Regions from separate parts of the Homo sapiens genome. Here regions 1 and 2 are each linked to region 3. The links are contacts of gene promoters, found by promoter capture Hi-C in human tissues and cell types (Jung and others, 2019). All regions are on one chromosome and are shown on one strand. Each heading gives the region's core, a stretch centred on a gene start or on the middle of the fragment in contact. The rest is flanking DNA. Distances are from core to core; before and after follow the strand shown.

Region 1 (2,700 bases), core at 134-2,633, 260 kb before region 3:
CTCTTAAGAAAGGATTATAAATTATAGGCTTGGGGCCAGGTGCAGTGGCTCACACCTGTAATCCCAGCACTTTGAAAGGCTGAGGCGGGTGGATCACCTGAGGTCAGGAGTTTGTGACCAGCCTGGCCAACATAGCAAAACCCTGCCTCTACTAAAAACACAAAAATTATCCAGGCGTGGTGGCATGTGCCTGTAGTCCCAGCTACTTGGGAGGCTGAGGCAGGAGAATAGCTTGAACTTGGGAGGCAGAGGTTGTGGTGAGCTGAGATCACATCACTGCTCTCCAGCCTGGGCAACAGAGTGAGACTCCATCTCAAAAAAAAACAAAAAAAAAAACAAAAAAAAAAAACAAAATTACAGGCTTGGGGCAAGGGGCAACAGCAGTAATGGGGCCTGGGCTGACCTGACAAGTGCTCCTTTCCAGCAACTGCCTTTCCCCACATGCCAGTGCAAAGGGCCTCACCATCTCCACTGTCCAGCCAAGAGCTGCCCTGCCACTAATTAAGAAGTGAATGTTCAGAGCTGACACAGGGCAACACATTATAGAAGTCAGGACAAGAGTTACCTGGAGCACCTCCAAGGTGTAGTGGCTCTTGAGTGCTGGCAGGTGGGAAGGGGATCTGTCCAGCTGTGTAGCTACTGTCTGTGTCCAGTTCCAGGTGCAGGATGTGTTGTTTTATGGTGACTGGGGAAAGGAGGCTGGTTAGGTCTATCATCGGAGGTGAGCCCTGCTTAATGTCTACACCATTGACTTTGTTTTAACTCCTTCATACTAGACCTGTGGGAGTGCTGTTTGCAGAAATTTGGTCAGCTTAGATATAAATTCAATTAACTTCCTCTAAACACCAGGTAGTGCTTCCACGTACATGAATGAATTTTACCCTTAAAATGAATCTGTGAAGAAGAAATTATCATTCCCCATTTCCCAGATAAGAGAATGTGTCTCACTGAGGAGCCTGACAAGATGGCTTGGTTACCAAGAGTTGGGATTTAAGCTCTGGTCTCCTGTGTCCAGAGGCCATGCTGATTTCATGTGATCTCAGCTACTTTCTATGAAGACACTGACTTCTGAAAGCTGATGCCAAAGACAGCTCTTTTGACTCTCGACACAAAATTCCTCTCATGTTAATGATCTCAGCTAATTGCAATGTAGTTATCTTTTAAATTAGCCAAGAAAAGGCCACTTTTTTACAAAAGGTATTTTAGCCAATATGGGTTCATAGATCTCTAATATCCACAAATAATTAATAAAATAACAGATTCTTTTTGAGAGGAAATGCTTGCTCTCTACTCATCGGGTTGTCTAAATAGTTAGCATTAATATTAAATGGTTGTTGAAAAAAATAACACAACAATGAGCCTTAACAAAAAACAGATACTTACTGAACACTGACTACATATCAGACACTGGGCTAATAACCTTTCACACATTGTCCCATTTAATTTCCACAACCTTAAGAGCCATACCCTATTTTTATTTCCATTTTACAGAAGAGGAAACCGAAGGTAAAGAACAATTAAGCAACTTGTCCAAGGTCACACAGGGAAAGGGATGGAACTAAGATTTGACCTCTGTTCTAACTTCAGAGCCAAAATCTAAATCACAACGTTATACTATCTTGAAAACTAGCCTAGCTTATTAGTGTGCTGGGCTCCAAAAACAAACAAACAACAACAACAGCAACAATAAAATATTTGATAAGTTCTGGAGAACTGGAGGTGGCAACCATGAGTGACGGAAGCATGGCTGGGGTTGTGAATGGACACGTTAGCCTCGGGGGCTGGCCCTGGTCAGGCACTGTGGATGGAGGGGCTGAGGCTGCCTTTGGGATGTTCAAGTCAAAATGGAAAGGGGGCCTGTTTTAGTGCATGAACAATCAGCTACTGGACAACATACCTGCCACCGAGTGCCACTGTCCATCACACAGAGACTGCTTTGGTGTGACCGACGTTGAGGTCCCACCTGCCCCACTGTCCATAGAGGCCGTGACCTGGAACACACATGCATTTTCCTATTTCCTTCAGGAAGGCAGGTGGAGCCGACCTTCCCCTGCCATCTTCCCTCCCCAAACCGGGCCAACTGACAGCTTAAGGGCACATTAGATATTGGCCCTCCTCCGCTTTTGAAGCATTTGACCACATGGGGTCCAATGCTTCCAGAGATCTCTCTGCTGCATCCCTTCCAGGCAACTATAAACCAGGGTGGACCCTGGCCTGAAGTCGTTGCCAATGGCAATGAGTTGTTCCCTTCTAATCCAAACCCCGCCCCCATCAGCTCAACTCAAAGGTTACTGATTGGAATCCTCCTTAGCAATTAATGCGTGACAGTGGCTCTGTATGGAAGGATATGTGAGATGTGGAAGGCAAAGCTACTGGTGGAGGCCTACAGCCTGCTGCAAGGGCCAGCCAACTGTAATAGTTCCATGCATGGCAAGACTTTAAACAAGCAAAATGATTGAGTTTGCTCTGGGCACGCATCGGGAGCCAGGCACGCAGTCTGTTTTGTGCAGAATCCCACATTCCTGCTTTCTAAATCAGGGTCTCCTCCAGGATCTTCCAAGAGTTGAATCAAGGGGAATGAAATGAGAGGACTAAAATAAGTGTGTTTATAAATAATTTACATTTAATTTGCATGTAGCTAGATGGGACAGCCTATTCACAGGCAATTTTTGAGCTAAACAATGTCACTGCTATTATGAA
Region 2 (2,700 bases), core at 66-2,565, 340 kb before region 3:
AAAAAATAATTTAAAAGCATTTAAAAACTCTACCATTTATAAACATTAGGGAAATAAAAAAGTTAGCAAAACATTTATTTTACAAACTCTTATTTAAAACATTGAGCATTAAAGGGATTTCCTTTTTTGTAAGAAAACTTATCAAGAGGATTTTGAGCAGGGCGTGCCCTCTTCTTGTAAGATAATGTATGATGTAAAGTACGCATCTCTGTCGTACTTTGAACTGTGACACTCCTTATGAAGTTTGGATTAGCTTCAGGGTAGCCTTTGTGCTTTCGATGTTGTGAGATCTTTCCAAGAGTTCTTTGAATGGGAAGTTTTTCTTGGCCAGTGTCACCTCCTCTGGGACATCTGCATCTTTTTTCTTACAACCTTCCTCCTTTATGTTTAATAAACTCCCCTTCACTAACTGCCTGTGGCTGCACATCCACAGTCCCTCAAATAGGGGCAGTGTCAACATTCCAGGTCAGCTATTCCTTCCATTTAGATATCATTCCAATTTCAGTTCCAGTGTTACCACTTTTTTCTTTGCTGCACTTTCATCTTTGTTGGCCAAAGTCCTCTTTCAATTATCCCTTTGAGTAAAATGTCAGTGGGTCTATCACTAGGAATGAAGGAAGCAACACAAGGACACTCTTTGCTGTCTGTGAACTGAACAACAGAGGTGCAATGACCAGTCACAGACAGACTCTGAAAGAAGTCACACGATTGGCTACTGATCATGTTACATACATAATGATTTGTGGCCTGAAAAGCTAGTGGCTACAATTACTCAAAGCTCATACACAGTAGTAACTGAAAATTGAACTGTGTTATTGGGGAACTGGTGTTACTTAACTCTGGAAACTGGAATCTGTGCATATTAGAACCAAGTAAGGCCAGGGCTGTCTGTGCATGATTACAAACTAAGGTAAGAACCCAGAGGATTCTTACAGAATGCATAGCAAACAAATGAGGCTGGAAGACCAGAGAAAGCCTCTCCAGGAAGGGAAGGTGGAGTTGAGGTTGAAGGATAAGTAGAAATTGAGTCAGCTTGGAGGAGAGATTCAACGTGCAATGAAAACCCTGTGTCAGGAGGAAGCAAAGCAAAGTCAAGAATCTGAAAGATCATGGTAACTACAAGTCAAAGAGTAAGGAAAGAACACAGCAATGGAAGACAAGGCTACCAAATGGCATAATTGGAGAAAGCACTGGTTATTTATTTTATTTATTTATTTATTGAGACAGAGTCTCACACTGTTGCCCAGGCTAGAGTACAGTGGCATGATCTCAGCTCACTGCAACCGCCGCCCCCCAGTTTCAAGTGATTCTCATGTCTCAGCCTCTCGAGTAGCTGGGATTATAGGCATGTGCCACCAGGCCCAGCGAATTTTTGTATTTTTAGCAGAGACAGGCTCTCGCCATGTTGGCCAGGCTGGTCTCAAACTCCTGGTCTCAAGTGATCCACTCGACTTCACCTTCCAACGTGCTGGGAATACAAGTGTGAGCCACTGCACCCAGCCAGCATTGATCTTTTCAATGAAGGTTAATATGGATTCTAAAGCTGGTTAAAACGAAAGCCATTGCCAATTTAAAGCTATTTTACTTTTCTGTTTTTCTACAAACCCCTGTATAAAAGGGGGAAATATGAGTCTATTTTATAGCATGAGCTAACTGGGATTTGTACAGCCACAACCTAGAAATCATACAACAAAATCATTTTAAAATACAGGTTGGGCAGCCTAACCCACAAATCTGAAACCCAAAATGCTCCAAAATCTGAAACTTTTTGAGGGCTGGCATGCTGCCACAAGTGAAAAATTCTACACCTGATCTCATGTGACGTTCACAGTCAAAATGCAGTCAAAACTTTGTTTCATGCAGAAAATTATTTAAAATATTGTACAAAATTACCTTCAAGCTCTATGCATAAAATGTATATGAAACATAAATGAATTCTGTGTTTAGACTTCGGTCCCATTCCTAAAATATCTCATTATGTATAAGCAAATATTCCAAAATCTGAAAAAATCTGAAATCCAACACATTTCCGGTCCCAAGCATTTAGGATAAGGGATACTCAATCTTCATATGAAAAAAATGAGATAAGGCAGTGACGGTCAAGGGGCAAACCAAGCAGGCCCAAGCTATGCCAGATAAATCCTGCCACAGATTTTGGTCCTAATCCTAAAAGCAATGGGAGGCTGAATTAGTTTTCTGTGGCTGTTGTAATAAATTACCATAAACCTGGTGGCTGAAAACAAGAGAAATGTATTCTCTTACAGTTCTTTAGACCAGAAGTGTGACATCAGTGTCACTGGGCTGAAATCGAGGTATCGGCAGGGCCACACTCCCTGGGGAGGCTCTAGGGGTGAGTCCCTGCCATGCCTCTTCCATCCTCTGGTGACTGGCTGCATTCGGGCTTAGGGCAGCTGTGGCTCTAATCTTCAAGGCCAATGTCTTCAAATCTTGTCTCTTGATGTTTCCATTTCGCCACCTTCTGCGTGTGTGTAAAATCTCTTTCTGCCTTCCTCTTATAAGGATACATGTGATTGCATTTAGGGCCCATCGAGATAATCCGGGATAATCCCCCATCTCAAGATCCTTAACTTAATCACATCTGCAAGGCACCTTTTATTCTTTTCCTTACAAGGTAGCACTGAGAGATTCTAGAGATTAGGAAGTAGATACCTTTTGGAGGACCATTTTTGAACCCACCAC
Region 3 (2,700 bases), core at 49-2,548:
TAGTCCCAGCTACGCCCAAGGCTGAGGCGGGAGGATCCCTTGAGCCCAGGAGTTCGAGGCTGCCGTGAGCCGTGATCGCACCACTGCACTCTTGCCTGGCTGAGACCTGTGAGTAAGGGCCAGGCACTGCAAGATGCTGCTTAACATGCACCGCAATGTCGTTTGCCCCGGGTGTTCGCGGTGAGGCTCGGATCTCTGAGAGCCTTTCTATCTCTGTCCGCCTAAGGTCTCATTCGCCCCCAATGACTGGATGGTGGCACTTCAGGCAGTGCAGTGAAGTGAATCTTTTCAGTAACATTAGAGTGATACCGCTGTTATAACCTAAAAATTCTCTCTTAAAATACACCACAGAAGGTAATTGCCACCGACTTCTCCGAATAAGGCCCGGGAGGTGGGGCAGGAGGCGCCCCTGAACCCTCGAGGACTCAAGCCTGGCGGGACGCTCCGTGGGTGACGGAGGCGGGAAGGGCCGAGGCGCCTGCATCTCTTAGAGCGCAGCCTCACACTTTCCCCTCCACCAGCCCGAACCTGACCACAGCCTCATGTCACCTCGCGTGCTCCCCCTCCTCGCCTCGGGCCGGTGGTGCCGGTGCGGTGCTTCCACGAGATCGCTCCTGGGTCGTGGGCCCTCGCGCGCGGGGATGGGGGCTGCCCTTCCCAGTCGCCCGGAGCCACTAGCGCGCGTGAGGAAAGGGCCCGATCCCTTCTCCGGGTGTCTGGCCGGCGCGGGAAGGAAAAGGCGCGCCCACCCCGGCTCTCTCCGAGGCCCTCACCTGGATGGTGTGGCCGCTGCCTGGGGCGGTGGGGCCCCCGACCAACTTGCAGTAGAGCTCGGGCTGGGGCCTCCCCTCGCCGGGTCCCCTCTCCCCGCAGGTGGCGGTGGCCCAAATCCTCGCCGCCTCGGCCAGGTTGAAGTAAGTCGGGTGAAGGCTGAGCCCGGCCGCGGCCCCGGGATCCCGAGCGGTCGCCCCGCAGGCTGGCAGCACCCGCAGTACCAGCAGGAGCAGCGGCGTCGGCGGCAGTACTGGCCCCAGTGCCCGACCCCGAGGCCGCGCGGCCGCCGCCATCCAGCCGCGCGGGGTCCTCCCGCCTGAGCCGTCCGCAGAGGGGCTCGGGGGCACCGCCGCTCTCCGCCTGCGCCTCCCGGACCTGCAGCGCCAGGACTAGCGCAGCCGGGGATATGGGCGGCGCCGGGGCCGCTCCCCTTGCTCCACGCGCTGGAAGCCCGCGGCGTGGGGGTGGCCTCTCAGCTCTGGAACCTGCCGCGGCTGGAGCGGGCACCAGCCGGATCAGGAACTGACAGCGCTCAGCCGCGCGCCAGCAGACGGCGTCTCTCCCGCGCGAGGCGCGCTGCAAACTTCGCGGGCGGGGAATGGGAGAGGCGTTCCCGGGCTCCCACCCAGGCGGCGGGAACGGGAGCCTGGGATCTTCGAACCCTCCAGGCGCCAGGACAGAAATTAATTAGATCGTTCTCCTCTCTGGATACTCACCGCTCAGGTCAAAGCCAGAAAAGCCACCTGTGACCTAAGAGTAAAGGAGGCTTGTAAACGAATTTGGTTGAGAGCAGAGGAAACTGCCACTACCTACAGAACTCACATCAAAGACATTTCGATTTCCCAGCCAAGTGTTGAGTCGTCAACTCCTCAACACTGTGCACCTAGGATCCCTGTGGCACTGCAGCCACAGGCTGAGCCAGGGAACTGGGAGTGGTGGAACGTACATATTTAAAAGACAGCCAATAATGCAAGTTGTAATTTGCCAACCTGGAAAGGAACCTTAGAGGAAATCCTTTAGATGCCTAATCTGCTCAATTTTACAAATAAGCTAACAGAGATTGAGTGAGGTACGCCACCTGCCATGATGGCCTCAGAACAGAGAAGACCCCCTCCCCCCACGACCCCGGACTGATGCTTGGTCTTATATGCAGAACACCCTACTAAAACAGAACCCACATAGGCCCTCGAAGAAATTAGAGGAATGCAATATTTGTACAATAAAAATTGCAAAACCTCTTTGAAAGAAATGTTAAAAGACCTAAATGAGTGGAAAAGCCTCCCATGTTCATGGATTAGGAGACAATATTGTGAAGATGGCAATATTTCCTAAAGCAACCTACAATTCAACACAATGGATTTTGATAGGGATCAAAATCCCGACTTTTTTTTTTTTCAGAAATTGACAAGCTGATCCTAAAATTCATGTGGAAATGCAAGAGACCTAGAAAATCCAAAACGATTCTGAGAAAGAATGAAGTCAGTGGACTCACGCTTCCTAGTTTTAAAACTTAATACAAAACTACAGTAATCAAGACAGTGTAGTACCGACATAACGATAAACATAGATCAATGGAATAGAATTGAGAGCTCAGAAATAAACCGTTACATTTATGGTCACTGGATTTTCAACAGGGTGCCAAGACTATTCAATGGGAAAAGAATAATATTTTTAATAAACGCTGCTGGGAAAACTGGACATCCCAAAATAATCTAGTAGGATCCCCACCTCATACTATATGCAAAAATTAACTCAAAATGGATTTAAGATCTCTAAATTTTACATTTAGAGAGCTAAACTATAAAGCTAAAACTATAAAATTCTAAGGGAAAAACACAGGAGAAAATCTTCATGACTTTGGATTAGCAATGCTGTCTTAGCTATGATATCAAAAGCGCAAGCAACAAAAGAAAAATATAAATTGGG

Evidence for each region. Contacts are between HindIII fragments. The study calls those that stand out against the background at their distance.
Region 1: a contact is called between a fragment that was not itself captured here and the fragment with the promoter of LAMA3 in region 3, in 2 of the 25 tissues and cell types used here (dorsolateral prefrontal cortex and spleen).
Region 2: a fragment that was not itself captured here is called in contact with the fragment with the promoter of LAMA3 in region 3 in 1 of the 25 tissues and cell types used here (lymphoblastoid cells).

The regions. Positions count from the first base shown.
Region 1 is chr18:23,950,975-23,953,674 of GRCh38, reverse strand. It overlaps LAMA3 (laminin subunit alpha 3), which reads right to left. Exons shown (of 75, transcript NM_198129.4): 73 at 1,898-1,991; 74 at 566-685. Among named protein-coding and RNA genes, the nearest start is that of LINC02958, 30 kb to the left of the region's middle. RefSeq lists an enhancer at 1,386-2,246. The HindIII fragment of the contact is 4,679 bases long and covers 1-2,700 here.
Region 2 is chr18:24,031,773-24,034,472 of GRCh38, reverse strand. All of the region lies in intron 1 of TTC39C (tetratricopeptide repeat domain 39C), which reads right to left. Among named protein-coding and RNA genes, the nearest start is that of TTC39C-AS1, 18 kb to the right of the region's middle. RefSeq lists an enhancer at 610-659. The HindIII fragment of the contact is 6,682 bases long and covers 1-2,700 here.
Region 3 is chr18:23,688,051-23,690,750 of GRCh38, reverse strand. It overlaps LAMA3 (laminin subunit alpha 3), which reads right to left and starts at 1,298. Exons shown (of 75, transcript NM_198129.4): 1 at 774-1,298. The coding sequence starts at 1,067. RefSeq lists an enhancer at 1,390-1,939. The HindIII fragment of the contact is 10,376 bases long and covers 1-2,700 here.